Regions from separate parts of the Homo sapiens genome. Here regions 1, 2 and 4 are each linked to region 3. Evidence: promoter capture Hi-C in 16 types of primary human blood cells and fetal thymus (Javierre and others, 2016). All regions are on one chromosome and are shown on one strand. The core of a region is centred on a gene start or on the middle of the fragment in contact, and the rest is flanking DNA. Distances in the headings are between cores, read along the strand shown.

Region 1 (4,439 bases), core at 1,422-3,921, 980 kb before region 3:
TTTTTCTCTTCTCTGGTTTGAAATTTCTAGTAGAATTTGCTGGTGAAGACATTTGGATCTAGATTTTCCTTTGTGAAAATATTTTTAATAGTATTTTTAGTTTTTCTAGTAGTTTAATAGTTCTAATAGCTTTAATATTTTATATTCTTGTTTCTGATATGGTAAGTTATATTTTCATAATTTTTTATTTCATAGAAATTTTCAGATATATTGGCATAAAAATGTATTCACAAAGTCTCATCATTTTATTACCTTCAGGATTTGCAACAATGTTCTTTTCTTTATTCTTGGCATTTGGTTATTAGTACCTTTTTTCATTTTACTTTACCAAACTCGTCAAGGATTTATTAGTTTTGATTTCTTTTTTTGTTACCCAGGCTGGAGTGCAATGGTGCGATCTTGGCTCAATGCAGCCTCTGCCTCCCAGGTTCAGCCAATTCTCCTGCCTCAGCCTCCTGAGTAGCTGGGATTACAGACACCTGCCACCATGCTTGGCTGATTTTTGTATTTTTAGTAGAGACGGGCTTTCACCATGTTGGCCATGCTGGTCTCAAACTCCTGACCTCGTGATCCACCTGCCTTGGCCTCCCAAAGTGTTGAGATTACAGGCGTGAGCCACTGCGCCTGGCTAAGGGTTTATTAAAAAGCTTTTGGTTATGTTGCTTCTTTCTATTGTATGCTTGTTTTCTACTTTGTTTTTATTTCTGCTCTTCTTTATTTTTCTATTTTCTTGTTTTGTAGTAAGTTTTGAAATCAAGAACCTTGACTCTTCCTACTTTGTTCTTTTTTTTCAAGATCATTTTGGCCATTCTGAGTCTCTTGCTATTCCATATGAATTTTAGAATCAGGTTGTCCATTCCTACAAAAAAGTCAGCTGGTATTCTGATAGGAATTGCACTGACTCTGTACATCAGATTGGTGAGTAGTGCTATTTTAACAATGTTTAGTCTTTCAGTCCACAAACATGGGATTTTTCCCATTTATTTAGATCTTTAAAATTTCTTTGAGCAATATTTTACAGTTTTTAGAGTATAAGTTTTGCTCTTCTTTTGTTAAATTTATTCCTAAGCATTTTATTCTTTTTGAATTGTAAATGAAATTGTTTTCAATGTAAATGAAATTGTTTTCTTAATTTTATTTTGGATTGTTCATTGAAATTGTGTAAACATATAATTGATATCATGCAAAGGAAAAAATAAGAGAGGAAGGTAATCTTGATGACAGTGTTTGAGACCTGGTTTCAGCTAAAGTGTATATTATTCCTTGACCATTCAGTTATCACTACTACCACTATTGAAATTACTACTATTACTATTTTGATTTAGTCTTCTCTTACTTGCAATCAAATGTTTATTGATTTGTTACTTGTATATTTTGGTTCAGCAATTAAAATAAATGTACTATAGTAATAGAAGATGTTAATATTAGAGGTTAGAGGGCTCTGGGTGTAGGATATAAAGAACTCTTTGTACTATCTTTGCAACTCTTTTTAAAATTTAAAACTATTCTAAAATTAAAGGTTTATTTAAAAATACAATTGATTTTTTTTTTTTGACAGACCCTCACTCTGTCACCCAAGTTGGAGTGCAGTGGGGCAGTCTTGGCTTACTGCAACCTCTGCCTCTCGGGTTCAAGCAATTCTCCTGCTTCAGCCTCCCAAGTAGCTGGGACTGCAGGCCTGTGCCACCACACCTGGCTAATTTGTGTATTTTTAGTAGAGACTGGGTTTCACCATCTTGGCTAGGCAGGTCTTGAACTCCTGACCTCAAGTGATCTGCCTGTCTCCACCTCCCGAAGTGCTGGGATTACAGACGTAAGCCACTGCGCCCAGCAAAAATACAATTGATTTTTGTATATTAATTTTGTATTCTGCAACCTCGCTCAACTCATTTATTAGTTCTAATAGTTTTTTAATAGATTCCTTAGGATTTTCTATTTTCTTTTTTTTTTTTTTTTTGAGACAGCGTCTCACTCTGTCACCCAGGCTGGAGTGCAGTGGCACAATCTTGACTCACTGCAACCTCTACCTCCCAGGTTCAAGTGATTCTTGTGCCTCAGCCGCCCCAGTAGCTAGGAGTACAGGTGTGTGCCACAATGCTGGCTAATTTTGGTATTTTTAGTAAAGACACGGTTTTGTCATGTTGGCCACGATGGTCTCAAAATCCTGACCTCAAGTGATCTGCCTGCCTCGGCCTCCCAAAGTCCTGGGATTACAGGTGTGAGCCACCATGCCTGGGCCCTTAGGGTTTTCTATGTACAAGATCATGTCATCTTCAATAGATAGAGTTTTACTTCTTTCTTTGTGATCTGAATGCCTCCTGTTCTTTTTTCTTGCCTAATTACCCCAACCGGAACCTCCAGTACAATGTTGAATAGAAATGGTGAGAGCATACATCCTTGTTTTGTTTCTGGTCTTAGGAGGAAAGTATCCAGTTTTTTACCATTGAGTATAATTTTAGCTCATTTAGCTGTTATTCTATTGGTATGGTGATTTAATTGATTTTTAGTTGTTGAAACCAAGCTTGCATTCTTAGGATAAATCGAACTTGGTCATGGAGTTTGATTTGTTTTATATGTTATTAAATTTGATTTGCTAGTATTTTGTTGAGGATTTTTGCATAAGAGGTATTGGTCTGTAATTTTCATTTCTTGTGCTATCTTCACCTGGTTTGGATAGTAAGATAATATTGGCCTCATAAAATGAATTGGAAAGTATTTCCTCCTCTTTTACTATTTGGAAGAGTTTGTGAAGAATTTGTATTAATTCTTCTTTAAGTATTTGATAAAATTCAGTGATTAAGCCATTTGGACTTAAGCTTTTCTTTATGGGTAGTTTTTGATTACTAATTCGATCTCTTTACTTGTTAAAAGTCTATTCAGATTGTCTATTTACTTTTGAGTCAGTTCCTGTAGTTTTGTTTTTGTCCTTCTATGGAAGGACATTTCTTCTAATTTATTGAGTTTTTTGGATACAATTGTTCATAATATTTCCTTATAATCTTTTTATTTCTGTAAGGGTAGTAGTAATGTCTTCTCTTTAATTTCTGATTCTAGTAATTTGAGTCTTCTTTCTTTTCTTATTGAACAATCTAACTAAAGGTTTGTCAATTTTGTTGATCTTTACAACAAACTGGCCTTGAATTAACTGCTTTTCTTTATTGTTTTTCTATTCTTTGTTTCATTAATTTCTGCTCTAGCCTTTATTATTCCCCTTCTTTGATTGCTTTAGGTTTAGTTTGCTCTTCTTTCTCCAGTGTCTTAAGGTGGAAGATTAGGTTATTGATTTGAGATCATTCCTTCTTCTTAATATAGGCACTGCAGCTATAAATTTCTGTCTAAGCACTGCTTTAGCTTTATCCTATAAGTTTTGGTATGGTGTGTTTTCATTTTCATTCTTGTCAATGTATTTTTAAATTTGCCCTTTTATTTCTTTTTTGACCTATTGGTTATATAAGGGTGTGTTTAATTTCCACATATTTCTGAGTTTCCCCAAATTTTCCATTGTTGATGTCAAATTTTATCCCAATTGTGGTCAGAGAACATACTTTGTGCTAGTTCTATTCTTTTAAATTTGTTAAGGTTTGTTTTATGGCCTAATATACGGTCTATCCTGGGGAATGTTTCATGTGCTCCTGAGAAGAATGTATATTCTGTTGTTGTTGAGTGGAGTGTTCTATAGAGATGTCTGTTAGGTCTCATTGGTTTATAGTGCTGTTCAAGTCTAATATTTCATTATTAATCTTCTGTCTAGTCTTTCTATCCATTATTGAAAGTGAGGTTTTAAAGTCTTCAACTGTTATTGCTGAATTGTATATTTCTCCCTTAGTTTCTGTCAATTTCACTTCATGTATATTGATGCTCTGTTATAAAATGCATACGTGTTTATAATTGTTATATCTTCCTGATTGATTGACTCTTTTATCAGCATGAAATGTCTCTCTGTCTCTAGTAACAACTTTTTTCTTTTCTTTTTTTTTTTTTTTTTTTTGAGACAGAGTCTCGCTCTGTCGCCCAGGCTGGAGTGCAGTGACACCATGTCGGCTCACTGCAAGCTCCGCCTCCCGGGTTCACGCCATTCTCCTGCCTCCGTCTCCCCAGTAGCTGGGACTACAGGCGCCCGCCACCACGCCCGGGTATTTTTTTGTATTTTTAGTAGAGATGGGGTTTCACCGTGTTAGCCAGGATGGTCTCAATCTCCTGACCTCGTGATCCATCCACCTCGGCCTCCCAAAGTGCTGGGATTACAGGCTTGAGCCACTGCGCCCGGCCCTTTTTTTGTTTTAAACTCTATTTTGTCTGATATCAGTACAGCCGCTTCAGCTTTCTTGTACTGTTTGTATATTTCTTTTTCCATACTTTACTTTCAATGTTTTTGTATCTTTGAATCTAATCTGAATCTAATCTTGCCCTCTTATACACAACATATAGTTGTATCATGT
Region 2 (4,400 bases), core at 313-2,812, 930 kb before region 3:
ATATATACACACAAACTCACAGATTTTTTTGCCCATTGTTTTATAAAAATGGGATCGTATGTTACATTCTTATCTCCAAATTGCTTTTCTCACCCAATAATACCTTATAGAAATCCCTTTAAGTCTATTGGTAGGCAGGTAATTAAATTTTTTATAAGTTGCATAATATTCCGCTGTGTGGCCGTCCCGCCGCCTGCCCTTCCCCACTCCCCCGTCATGTCCACCTCCCAGCTTACGCCTCGGCAGCTCGGCTTCCAGAGCCCGGAAACGGCGCGCTGCTTCGCACCTCCTCTCCGCGATGCAGCCCGTTCCCTCCGCTGCCTGACTCACACGGCTGCCTCCTACTCACTGGGGATCCATCTGCAGCTCCTTCTCCAGGGCAGCGGCCGGCAGGGCTGGCGGGAGCAGGGGGCGCAGAGAGGTCAGGGGCAGTTGAAGTGGGGCCTCGTGAGCCAGGCCGTGACGGGGCTGGGTCTTGATCCTGGATTGGGGGCCTCCCGGAAGGCTCGAAGCAGGGAGTGCTGTGTGTTAAGAAGCCCTGTAGCTGGCTGGAGACCTGGAACCTGTGCTGGTCGTCCTGTAAGGCAGGGGACCTGGGTCCCTCCGCTCCTCCCCAGGCTCCCCATCCACCCCCTCCCTCTTGGTCCCCGCTGTCTCCATTGGCTTCTCCTCCCCCGTGGTGAGCCAGGCTGTCCTGAGTGTCCAGGGGCAGACGGCCCCCGCCCACCCGCTTCCTGCGGCTCCCCCCAGGCCCTCCGGCTTCAGTCTCCACAGCTGAATCCTGCAGGAAGCCATACAGTGGGAATCTCCGGGCAGCTTCTGGTTCGCCCTCGGGTCTGAGTCACTCTCTGTGCTCTGTCTCCCCACCTCCCCACTTCCTCTCTGGCAGGCACCGATGCCTTCTGCACATTGTTCCCCGGGGAAGGGAACCACCCCTGCCTCACCTGGCGGCTTCCACTCCCGGTGGGGCCGTGGTGCCAGGGGCGGACAGTGCCATGGACAGGGTGGCTGCTTTGGTTCCCAGACTCCCTGAAGCCGCTTGTAGGGCCCTTCTAGAAAGGCCTGTCGTCGGCCCGCCCCTCCCCTGAGGTCAGAGGGCATGGGTCATCAGCAGCCCCGGGGGCTTGTCCACCAGATGCAGCAGGGTGGGGCGGAACAGGCCCTGTGTCTGTTCTAATTGCCCTGTTTCACTTCCGAGGCTACCTGGCTTTTACACCACAGGACGCTGAGTTTCTAATTACTATAGGGAAAGAGAAAAGGAGTTTTCTTTTTCAATAAGTGTATTTAAGTGGAGGAAGATCTGAAGGAAATGCCCACATGACTCTAGTGGGGCCGGGCGCCCAAAACCTGAAGGAGAGTCCGTGAAGAGGCTGGGAGGGTGCCCGCCGGCTGCTGGTGGGCCAAACCCACTTTTCTTCCCGCACTGTTTTGAAAAGCTATTGAATTGTGGGATTCCCAAGCAAACGTGAATTTTCTGGCTTCTTTTGAAAGGTCTGGACACTGGGCAAGGCTGAGAGGGGGAGCAGCGTGCCTCCCCGGCCTCCCTGCTGGGTTCACGGGGGAGAGGTTTGCAGCCCGCGGGCATCCGAGTCCTGCCCAGGCGACTGGGAGGGCCAGGCCAGAAGGGCGTCTCCTGGGGTGGGAGGCCCATGCCGGGCCGCCCCCGGGACTCACGCTGCTCCCAGGCCCTAGAGAGGGCGCCCAGCCCGAGCGCCTGGGACAGGCAGTCGCGCAGTGAGCACCTGTAGAGGCTGGGGTTTGGGCCGTGGCGCTGGCGCCGGCTCGCGGAGCTTCCCTCCCGCCCTCGCGGTCCCCTCTCGGGCTCGGTCCCTTCTCGGGCTCGGTCCCCTCTGCACAGCTAGGGGCCGCTCGGCTGCGGCGCGGCGCTCTGGGGGCGGCAGGGGGCGCTGGCGGCCCGCGGGAACCCTCTGCAGCTCAGGACAAAGGCTGCGGGTGCGGCGCCGAGCCTGCGCTATGCTGGGACCCGGCGATGCAGCCCCGACTGCAGCCCGCTCCAGCCCATCCCGACCGCCAGCGCCGTCGGTAGTCCTCTCCCCCAGCGCACACCTCCGCCTCTCCTCCGCATCCCTCCCCGGCCATCTGTTTTGCACTTCCCCTCTCCATCCCTGGGCCTCTCTGTCTTCTGTCTGCCTCTCTAACTCCAATAAGGGCTGACCCTGTCTCTGAGTGCCCCTTGGGTCCCTGGCATCTCTCTGTTTTTCCTGTTCCAACTGTTTTCTCCGGAGGTCAGTTTGCTCTTCCAGAGAGGAGGCCCTGAGACCACATTAGCAGTGATGGGACCAGCGGAGAAAAAGCACCCCGCCTCCTCCACCTTCGCCTGCCCTTTGGCCTCTGTTGCAGGCTGGGCGCCTCTGACTGCCCACAGATAGTCTTCATGTTAATGCCAGGTCTTACTGGGTTCTCCCTCTGGTCCCACCATGCCCCCTGGGTTGCCTGGGGAAAGGGGGGAGGTTGGGATCCTGGCCTGGGCTCCCTGTGGTTGCGGGCAAAGCTGGTGCTGAATGGGAATGGAAGGCATTCTGAGGCTCCGGGCTGGGCCACGGGACCTGGCCTGCCTCTGCTGTGGCCTGCCGTCCCTGCTTGCCTAAGATCTTCCCTTCCATGTTCCCAGTTCCCTACACAAATAATGAAAATGTAGGGCTCTATGACATTTTCCAACTCTGATCATCTAGACTCTAGTGACATGGATCTAAAATCCCACACTCCTGGTTATCTGACCTTCAAAGCAGGTGCTTTATCCAGTTCTTAAGACAGTACTACGGGGAAAGTGTCAGCACGCCTATTTTATAGATGAGGAAGACTGAGGCCCAGAGAGCCGAAGGAGCTGCTGCAGGGACACCAAGCCCTGTCTGACTCTCAGCCTGGACCTGCTCCCCTGAGCCAGGCTGCTGTGCAAATGGTCAGAGGGCTCCAGGCTTTAGCTGTCAGAGGTTTCTCCACCACTGGAACCTTAGAAGCACAGAGGAGCCACCCTCATATGCCATGTACTGCATGATTCCATAACTGAGAAGTCTTCCTTGTGGTTTGGATGATGTGTCGTGCCAGTTAGGAACACTGAAAAGCAGATGCCAAGATGACGGAGCAAGAAGTGCAAGGGATTTATGGCAGGAATCACCTGCAAGAAATCCAGAGGAGAAGGAGCAGGAGTGGGTGGGGATTGCCTGAGACCATACTGTGGGTTTGAGCCTTCTAAGAAGAGAGAATAAGGCAGGCAGATTGGGTAAGAAGAGTGTTAGCCTGCAGCACAGCTCTGAGAAAATCTCTCCGGCCCAGTGGGACTCCCTGATAGACTGTCCACAGAGGAGCCCCAAGCTGAGCAGGAATGCCCAGGCCCTGGTACTGCTGCCACACTGGGCTTTTGGCTAGCAGAGTGTGGCCTCAGCCTGGCTACTTGGCAGGTTTTGCAGGCACAGCAGCTGCAGGCTGTGGGCTGATTGGGTCCTCAGGGCAGCTCTCTTTGGAAGGCTGAGAAGTTGGGTGGTATGGCTCTGTGGCTGGGGGCACCCACTATTCCAGAAAGCACACAGTGCTTGGAGCCAGCCAGACTTGCCACTTTCCAGCTGGGTGATCTTGAGCAAGTCTCTGAGCCTTGATGGCCTTACCTATAAAGATGATCAGACAGTTGTCTAGAGGATCCTGTGGGTAAAGTGTCTGGCAGAAGCTTGGCAGTAGACACTTTTAAAAGGTGGCTGCTTTGAGATAATTTTTCTTTATCTGAGGAGTTGGTATATCCCCTGCCCTTCTACTCAGAGGGCTGATTAGACCCTAGGTATGACCCCATACTTTTGATTCCTCACTGGGACCATGGGACTAATACTAGTATCTTCTTCACTGGTTCATCTTCCTACCTGTTAGAGGCAATAACATTTTCCTATTGTGTTGTTGGACTGAAAATTGCATTCTTGCTATTTGCCCATTCATTCATTCACCGACTCTGGCCCAGCACATCACCCTGTTTTATCTTCTCCATCTTAAGCCATCTTGTTTATTGAAGTGTTAATTGTCCTTAAGCTCTGGGAAGACTTGGCTCTTGTCAAAACTGTTCACAGCTGTGTCTTCAGAGCCTAGCTGCAACACCTCTTTGTCGAATGAGTAAATATATTTACCAAGAGCCTACCTCTTCTCATGTAGGGGTAGCATGTGGCGCCTCACGTCTAGGTGCTCCTAGTTCAGTGGAAAGCTGGACATGGACTGGATTTTAAACACTATATTATCAGAGCTGGGGCAAAGAAGGCACGTGGGGTTTTGGCTGGGTTTGGAGAGGGCTAGGGGTGAGCACAGACTTTCATCTTTCAGAGCTATGCAGAGGGTTTCTCTAGGAGTTGCAGAGTAACAGATAGGCATGAATGAAGTGGCCAGCTGTGAGCCTCCAGGGACTG
Region 3 (4,347 bases), core at 683-3,182:
CAAGAGCGCTTGACAGAAACAGAGAGAGATGCTGAGATGCTGGGTGAGGTCATGGCCAAGAGCAGGACAGGCCAGGTGGAGAGCCCAGCCTGCGCAGAGGCTGGGAAGGGAGGTTCGGAGCCGTCCTCCTAACACCTGCTGTCTCTTCCCAGGCTCTGCAGGAGAGGGAGGGAGGTCAGAAGGAACAAAGCCCAGAAGGTGACTAGTACCTTGGTTTGTTTCTCATCCCTCAAACCTGGGTAGAGTAGGTGACAGGAGAGAGGTGTCCCACGGAGACATGGGGACGCAGACACTCCATGCAGTCACTCAAAGATGTATGCTCCTTTGCAGACACTCCCCGGGACCCAGGCACTCAGGTGTCCTCTAACATCCCACGCTGAGCCCTGAGGGGCCAGTAGCCACCAAGTTCTGCCCTGTCTTAGTACTGGGTAAACATCTGTCTACTGAATGACTCGGTGGACAGAGGCTGTGGCAGCCACAGACACTGAGTCCACACCCCAGACTGCCAGGAGATTGTCTGCTCAACACCACCAGACAGCTCACAGAAGGGGTTGTGGGGGTGCTGGAAAGAGACACCCCAGCCCTATCCCATGGGCTTGGGGAGGCATCCAGGTCTGACCTGCTGTGTCTGGACACACAAGGGGCAAGGGGCAGTGTGAGGGTCAGGGGGAGTGGGCAGAGGCCTCCCCAGGCCCTGATATCCTCAAGTCTTGGGCCACTCCCACCCCCACTGCCCAACATCCCCGCCCACCCTGGACCTAGTTACTTACTCCCTGGGACTGTGTCTGCCAGGTTCCAAGGGTGGGGCCCAGGATTCTCAGAGCCCACACTGGGGGTGGGGAGGCGGACTGAGTCGTCCCACCCAGCACGCATACCACATACAAGGAAAGGCAAACAGCCCTGAGGTCAGGAGACCCGGGCGCTGGCTGGGCCCCTCCAGTCCCAAGTAGATTGTATAGCCAGCACGTTGCCACCACACCTGTCTCCCCACTCTCTGGCCCGCTTCAGATTGTGTGAAATGGGTTGATGGGAGGCTTCACATGAGCTGAGGAGAGACTCAGAGCAAAGACTCAGCACCGGTGGAGCCCAGGGCACTCAGCTCTGCGGAGTCATGACTAACTGCCTCAGTTTCCCCAGCCAGACCACGAGTGGGTGCACAGGAGTCCCAAGCCCTACCCAGTGTGGATTTCAGGGTGGAGCAGGGAGTGGCACCCACTGCACAGTAGGACAACCAAGGGACCGGACCGAGTGGCCCAAGCTTCCCCTCCTATGCGCATGCGCCCAGCAGCGCTCATGTCCAGGGGCCGTGGGGTGCGCAGGGGAAGGGGGTGAAGGTAAGGGAGATGGCCTTCCCGGATTGGCCAATTGTCCTCTACCCCCCACAACTGACCCCGGTCTCCAGGCACCGGCTGTGGGACTCAAAACAGTCACCGCTCTGGGAGTGGGGAGGTAACTCCGGAGGAGGAGCAAGAGCCTTTGCTCGCGGGGGCGTCTAGAGCCTTTCTGTGCCTCACCAGCGCCCCTGCCCGCCACCCCTAGCCCCAGCCAGGAAGGAGACAACAGGTGTCCCCCGCGCTGTCGAGGGGTCAGGCCGCGGTGGAAAGCGCGAGGAGCCAGGTTTGGTTGGGGGTGCGCGGCTCGGCCGGCGGGCACTCACCCGGGCGCAGGGAGCGGGGCGCGGCGCATAGGAGCAGGAGCGCGGCGCCCAGACAGGCGGCCGCCAGCACGCGCCGCCGGCAGCAGCGCCTCCCCATGCTGTGCCGGGCGCGCGGCGGAGGACAGTCCGCTGGATACGGCTGGGGGCGGAGTTGCACTGGCCCAGGACCCGGCCCCGGCAGCGCAGCGCCTACCAAGACGCGCGGCGCGGCGCAGGGCAGGGGAGCACGGCAGCTGGACCCCAGCCCCACCAGCCCCTGCGAGTCGCTGGGGACTGAGGAGGCGGGACACGGTGGGGCCGCAAGCCCGCTCCTCTTTTCGTGCCCCCACCCTCACCCAATGGAATGGGGCCGAAGTCCAGGGCGCTAGGGCGGAGACTGATTGGGGAAGCCCCTCGCCTCTGGGCCCCGCCCCTAGGGTTTGCCCAGGGGTGCCATTATCCACCCAAGGCCAAGAGGCATTGTCGCGGTGGCGTGCCCCACCCCGGGCGGTGTCCCCTTGCCTTTTTGCTGCCTTAGATGCCAGGGGCCCAAGGGCTGATCTGGGATGAACCAAGGAGCCTAGTAGAGCGTTGCCCTGTCCATGGCTCTCCGGGACCCCCGCCCTCAGTAAGAGGCCTAAGAGTGTCCCTCCCTCCCCGACCCAAGGCTACCCTGCAGCCTTGCTTTCCTCCAGGGTCTCCAGGTCCTGCCTGAATCTAGCTCATGCAGGTGGCACTAGCCTTTGCACAGAGAGGTAGGGTCTCAGCTTACATCCCCCGGGGAATGGAGCTTGTGCCTCATCGTGTCACCCACAACTTCTCTGGGCACCACGTGAGCTCTGAGGACTTGCCAGGGACTGTGTGTGTGTGTGTGTGTGTGTGTGTGTGTGTGTGTGTTGGGGGGTGGAGGGGGCGAGGTGAGAGTAAAGTCCAGCCTTTGAAAGACACACACATCCAGCTAGCCCTGTGGGCAGGAGCCCACGTCTAACCGCAGGGTCTTGCTGCCCAGAAGTCAGGCTAGCAGGGAACGGGAGGGTGCAGCTGGCACTGGGTGCGCGGATGAGTGCGTTGGAAACAACATTTAGCAGTGTGAGTGCATGGGATAGGGTACTACATTACACTGTAGGTTTTTTTTGGAGTTTTTTGTATAAATGTAAGGGACACAAGTGCAGGTTTGTTACATGGAGATATGCAGTGGTGAGGTCTGGGCTTTCCGTGTAACCATCACCTAAATAATGTCCATTGTACCCATTAAGTAATTCCTCATCCCTCCCACCTCGCTCACTCTCCTACCCTTCCAAGTCTCCAGTGTCTATTATTCCACACTCGAAGCTCCAGTTGTTAAACTGTTCTTGAAAAATGTGGTGACTCCAAACCCACCTGGTGCCGCTTACTGCTGTGGGAGATTAGGAAATTAACTGCACCTCTCTGTTTCCCATTTTCCTGTACGGGGGGATAATCCTAAACCTCAGTGCTGTGAAGATTAAATGAGATACAGGAAATGTTTGCAACAGTGTCTGGCACTCAGTGAGTGCCAGGTAAGTATTTGATATTAGTAATTAATTTGTTTATGGTTACTGCCTGTTTCTGGCAAGTGGCTGGTTTCTGTTAAAGTGGTGAAATAAAAATTTCTCCCTACTATATTTATTTAAGTTGTGGAAGATCTATTTAAGGAAGAATATTAAGCAAATAATAGTTCTGCTGGTTTTGAGATACAGCTTTAAATGGTGATGATGTTCTCAAAGGACAGGGGTGGGAGTCCAGACTCACAGTAAGCTAGAAGCTTCTTATCATGACTTTTCTGGCCTTGGGGAACCTCTAGCCCACCCCCAGACTGGCCCAGGACCCAGGGATTCCAGGTCATCTGCATTCCCTGCCGGACCTAACTCGCATCCAAAGGTGCCTTCCAAATTTCCCCAGACCGGCATTCCCTGGCCTCACTGCCAGCCTGGAATCCTCAGCGCGCTTTGCCCTTATATGCTGCCACCTGGTGGCCAAAGTTGGGAATAACATCTCAGCCCTTCATCCGGAGATGTCCCTGGAAATGGGGTCCCTGGAGAAAGGAAGAGATGGTCTTGGGTCTTGGGGTGGGAGGGTGCAGATGCCTGGCTAGACGCCCGGGGCCTAGGGAGCTTCCCTGCGAAGACGCCCTCTCCCAGGGACTCGCATTCATTCATTCATTCGACAGATACAGAACACCCACTCCGTGCTGAGGCCTGGGTGGAGAGGGTGAGACCCATGCAGTGTCTGCCCTCACAGCATTTCCATTACAGATTGGAAGCACGGAAAATCAGGATAGAGAGATAGAGCGGTGAATGCTGCTGTGAAGAAAACACAGCGGGTACCAGGATGAAAAGTGTGTCCGGTGCAAGGAGGGTGCCGGGGCAGGCCTGGGGGAGGTGGCATTGGAGCAGAGATGTGACTCCAGGGAGCAGAAGCCAGCAGGTACCATTGCAAAGGCCCTGAGGTGATGTTCCAGTTGCTGTTGCTAGGTAACAAACTGCCCTAAAATTTGGCCGCTTAAGACAACCATTTAAATTTTGCTCACAATTTTGTGTATTGGGAATTGGGGCATGGGCTTGGCTGAGTGCTCATGGGAGTCTCAGGCTGCCACAGTCAGAAGGCAGCTGGCACTGCATCACTGGGAGGCTCACCCAGGCCCAGTGTCCCACTGGCTCACACTGGCAGGTGGTGTCCGTCTGGAAGCTCTG
Region 4 (4,595 bases), core at 658-3,157, 950 kb before region 3:
ATTATTTTCTTATTGTTCGAAAACAATTTAGCTGGTAACTATTCTGCCATTTTGCTTATGAAAACATTTAAAACAGAGAAGAATGGGAGGACTAATTGGAAGAAATCGGAATGACTTGCACCTGGATTCAATAATAGTTAAAATTTTTGTATAGTTGCTCCATCTCTTTTCCTCTCTTTATGCATTTTCTCTGTGCGGAACTCTTTGAAAGTAAGTAACAGACATCACAAGGGGACACCCTAAATCCTGCAGCCTGCTTCTTTGAAGAGCGCGTTTTGATCACCCGGAGACCTTCATGAATCTCCAAATTTGCAAACATGCTGTCCTGGGCGTCTGTTGTTTTGCCAGCAGCACAATCCCCTTCAGCTTTCCTTTGGAGAACAAAGTCAGTCTGTGCGGCGTGTGGGGGATGACACCTGCGTCCCCTAGGCCTGGCAGGCTCAGTGGCCCAGTGCCAGCTGACCTCAGGATGCTGCTGGAAGTGGCGAGGTTCCCAGCTGGCTGCATGTGGGTCAGAGCTGCCTGTCTTGCAAGCGTGAGGGGGACCCGCCTGGGGTTGTGGCCACACTCAGGAAAGTAGAACCAATCAGCAGCAGCCAGGGCCAGCCAGGCCCCACGGGAAGGGATTCACTACTTTTTGTTTTGCGAAACCGGTTTGAGTTGGGTTTTTGTCGCTTGCAAGTTGTAAATGACATGATCTTAGCAACTGATTCTCCCATATAATGTCCTCAGTTATGTAAAAATGTTAAATTAATGAGGTGATCAGTTCAAGACTAAAGTAATTTGTGAGAGCATTAAAACAAACTTGGCCGTTAGAGTCAGCTCTCCACTTAGTTACTTTGTGCTGTTATTTTGGTAACCATGGGCTATGAACTCACCTAATCTATAGAGCCCGCCGATGGTGAATGACACAGTCCTCATTTACTTTGTGAGAAGGGCTGTGTTGGTGAGGATGTGGGGGGAAGTGGCCCCAGTGGAGACAGGGGTTCTGAGGGGTCAGCGGGGTACAGGCTCTGGCCAGGGCAGGGGCCTGGGTGGAGCTCCTCACATTCAGGCCTCCGCGACTGCCAAGGAAGTTGCCGCTAGGGAGCTTGGAGTGTTTTATCAATAATAAAAGTTGCCAGTGGTCTACATGAATCCACTAAGACCTCTGCCCCCTGCTTAGAAAGATTCATCAGAAAAGAAAATTAAGAACAGAGATGACATGGAAGATGGGTGGGAGGCCATTCTAGCGGGAGAGAACCATGTGAGCATGGCCATCAGGTGGCCAACGCAGAGAACCTTTCTGTAGCCCTTAGCTTGGCTGAGCCTGAGATTCATTTCTGTGAAATGGGCCCAGGAGACCACTAGGACTGCCCATTCCACATGCTCGGGACCTCTTGAAGGACGGTCTAGCCCCAGATGTCTCCTAAGAGTAAGGGTGCTCCCCTTCATGCAGCGGACTCCTAAGATCCCAAAGAGGAGAATCTGAGAACTTCATGTCCCCAGTTCTGCAGGTGCCACCGGGAGAGGGACATCTGCGGTGTGGGTTGGCCCCCCTTCCGCTCCCCACGGCCTACCTGGAGATTTTTTCTCTTATTATAATAGTCTGTCTGCGTTTAAAAAATTAAAGAGCCCTCAATTTTAAGTGGAAAGACCTTCACATTTACAGTTTTTTTCATTAGATTTGCAGGAAGTTTTTCTATTTTATTAGTTTTTTTCAAAGAACCAGGTCTGGTATTTATTTGTTATTTTCACTGCTTTCATGTTCTCTAATTTATTTATCTGCTTTTATCTTTAGGATTTTCTTTCTCCTATTTTTCTTCAGGTTTGTTCTTTTCTTAAAAATCCGAGGTTGAAAGCCTCATCTCTTCACGTTCTCTTTGCGTGTGTGAGCTGGTTTGACAATAAACACGTTTAAAGTTATGGGCGAGCCTCTGAGGCTGGCGAGGACCGTCCTGTGGGTTTTGATATGTAGGTTTGATTTTCATTGTTTCTGGGTTATCAGTTACTGTGTACTTGATTTCCTCCTTGACCTAGATGTTATTTAGGAGAGTAGTTTTAAATCTCTACTTTTCTTTCTATTTTTAGAAAGTATTTCTAGCTTTATTATATTGTGGTCAAGACTGTGGTCTCTAAAAGATCTGTTTGAAAAATCTTTTTGACATATTCACCGGGACTGATGATATGATCAGCTTTTAACGATGTTCCCTGAACCTTCCCACCAATGGCACATTCTCTGTTTGTTGGGTAAAATGATAAATGCTCACGTATTAATTCTATCTTCTCAATGACATAGTTCATATCCTCTGTGCTTATTTTTTGCTTACTTAATATTCCATAAATGAGTATTAGTGAATTAAAATGTCATGTCTTCTCTCCTTTTATCTCTAACATTTAAAAATGAGTTTTGTGGTTTGGTCTATGAAAGTGTGAGGAAAAGGAACATCAGGATTCACTGAGCCTTTCTTTGATGACCTGAGTGTGGCCTCTGGAGCTGGGCTGCTGGGGCCTCCCGTCCCACTCAGGGCCGCTGTGGAGCTTCCCTGCCTCAGTTTCCTCGTCTCTACAATGGGGCTTGGAGCCATGTTCACTGAGGAGGCTCTTGTCAGGAGATAAGCGCACGCGTGGGGCACAGGAAGCACAGTGCCTGGCTCGCAGAAAATGCTCGAGAGCTGAATACTGGTGCTGCTGTTTTAGTGTTTGTTGGTGTCATGATACAGTGAGCCCCTGGACCACACTTACTGTGTTGGCTTCGTCTGATGTTAGCGCTGCCATCCCTGCTTTCCTTTGTTCAAGTTTAAATTAAACACACACACATACATGCACATGCACACGCGTGCACACAGAGTCCTCCCCACTGTTACATTCCCTTTCTCATGCTTCGTCCACTTGACATGGAGGCCTGAGCCACATCCTCCCCTTCTGAACTCTCCATCAGGCTCTGTCATCCTGCGCCCTCCTAACCTCAGGAGAAGGCTCCCTCGGGCCCACCAGCTGCCCCCGGCAGCTCCTCGTCTCACCCTGCACCAGCGTGGTGTCGCCAGGCACCTTCCATGCTCTCTCTGCCTTTGATTCCTTGCTGAAACATGCTGTTTCAGGCTATTTCTCTTCATCTTCATGACGTCTCTCCTTTCCAGTGAAGCTGCGCTAGTCCGGAGGTGTCTACCTCCTGCCAAACCTCCAGGAAAGTTTCCATCTTAGCAGAGGCAGATCGAAGCACCTGTGTTGTTCTAGACTTCTGATCTCTGCTCGAGGGGCTGTCTCCGGGGCTGAGATAATTCCTGCTGGATCCAAGGAGCCCTCTGGCTTCATGTTTGCTTCAGCTGCTGCAGGACTTAAAGCCAGAATCACACCAGTTGTGGGAGACAGGCCCTACTTTTCTCCCTTCCCTCTTTCCCTCCTTCCCTCCTTCCTCCCTTCTCTCCTTCCTCCTTTCCCATTCCCTCCTTCCCTTCCCCCTCCCCTTCCCACCTTCCTCCTCTTCTCTCCCTTCCTTCCTCACTTGCCTCTTTTCTCCTTCTCTCCCTCCATTCCTCTTTCCTACTCTTTTAAAGCGTCTACTATGTGGCATCAGGCACTGCACTAGGCACGGAGATAAAGAATGAATAAACCAGATGTGGTCTGTGTCAGAACGACTGCTGTGACAATGATAAGCCCCATCAAGTACGGGCAGCAGGGCAGAGAATTGGAACAGCCATGTTGGAAAACTGCTTGGCAGTCCACTGTTGAAGGGTGAACACACTTTTATCCTCTGGCCTAGTGATTCCATGCTTGAGTCTACGTGAAGCAGAAATGTCCACATATGTTTTCCAAAAGACATGTACAAGAATGCACATAGTGGTGTTATTCAAACAACCCCAACCAGAAACAACTCACATGTCCCTTGACATAGACTAAATAGATAAATGTGGGAAATCCCCCTGTGGGGCATGACATAGCATGAGAAGAAGCAGGGGCAGTCACAGGCAACACCACCATTGGGTCTCACAGGTCCGGGCATCTGTCCAACAGAAGATCACAGAGATATGATTCTATGTACATACAACTCAAAACCAGCAAAATGGAGCTAGACTGTTGGAAGTCAGGCTAGTGGTCCCCCTTCAGTGGGAGGGTGACATGGCATGTTGCTGGGAAATGGCTGGGTTTCATGTCTTGACCTAGGCACCCCTTATGCAGGTGTGCGCACTGTGTGGGAATTCAGTGAGCTGTGCACTGAGGGCTTGTGCGTGTGTCTCTAAGCGTGGTAGACTTATAAAATGAAATAAAATGAAATATAAAATAAAGTGAAATAAAATAAAAGGAAGTGCTTCCTGTGCTCTTGGAGCTGGTAGTCTTATGTGAGGAGACAGGTATCAATCAAATAACTGCACAGACAGCTGCCAGAAGCACTGACTTCGAGACCCTGATGAAAGCGAGATGGCTTCCCAAGGAAGCAGTAGCCCAGCTTCCCTCCAAGGACAAAGAGGAGTTCACGAGGTAGGTGGTGGGTGGAGTGGGTGAGGGAAGAAGGAACATCCTAGGAGCAACCTTCTTACCAAAGCCCATGGTGGGTGGGGCTTGGTGGGTCAGAGGCTAGGGCTCCCGGGTGTGCCCATGGGGTGGGCGTGGGGTGC

What was found. The method cuts DNA at HindIII sites, captures the fragments that hold promoters and counts their contacts. A CHiCAGO score of 5 or more calls a contact.
Region 1: a fragment that was not itself captured here is called in contact with the fragment with the promoter of CHST13 in region 3 in 5 of 17 cell types (total B cells, endothelial precursors, total CD4 T cells and 2 more); the score reaches 8.2 in total B cells.
Region 2: a fragment that was not itself captured here is called in contact with the fragment with the promoter of CHST13 in region 3 in 15 of 17 cell types (endothelial precursors, fetal thymus, naive CD4 T cells and 12 more); the score reaches 21.6 in endothelial precursors.
Region 4: a contact is called between a fragment that was not itself captured here and the fragment with the promoter of CHST13 in region 3, in 3 of 17 cell types (erythroblasts, endothelial precursors and naive CD8 T cells). The highest score is 5.8, in erythroblasts.

The regions. Positions count from the first base shown.
Region 1 is chr3:127,504,507-127,508,945 of GRCh38, reverse strand. All of the region lies in intron 5 of LINC01471 (long intergenic non-protein coding RNA 1471), which reads left to right. Among named protein-coding and RNA genes, the nearest start is that of LINC02034, 31 kb to the left of the region's middle. The HindIII fragment of the contact is 295 bases long and covers 2,524-2,818 here.
Region 2 is chr3:127,453,228-127,457,627 of GRCh38, reverse strand. No RefSeq gene overlaps it. Among named protein-coding and RNA genes, the nearest start is that of LINC02016, 65 kb to the right of the region's middle. RefSeq lists a silencer at 1,604-2,033. The HindIII fragment of the contact is 4,245 bases long and covers 1-3,684 here.
Region 3 is chr3:126,521,740-126,526,086 of GRCh38, reverse strand. CHST13 (carbohydrate sulfotransferase 13) reads right to left here and starts at 1,932. Exons shown (of 3, transcript NM_152889.3): 1 at 1,658-1,932. The coding sequence starts at 1,754. RefSeq lists enhancers at 545-1,045, 1,046-1,546, 1,607-2,107, 2,108-2,608. The HindIII fragment of the contact is 2,161 bases long and covers 1,261-3,421 here.
Region 4 is chr3:127,475,530-127,480,124 of GRCh38, reverse strand. No RefSeq gene overlaps it. Among named protein-coding and RNA genes, the nearest start is that of LINC02034, 60 kb to the left of the region's middle. The HindIII fragment of the contact is 8,521 bases long and covers 1-4,595 here.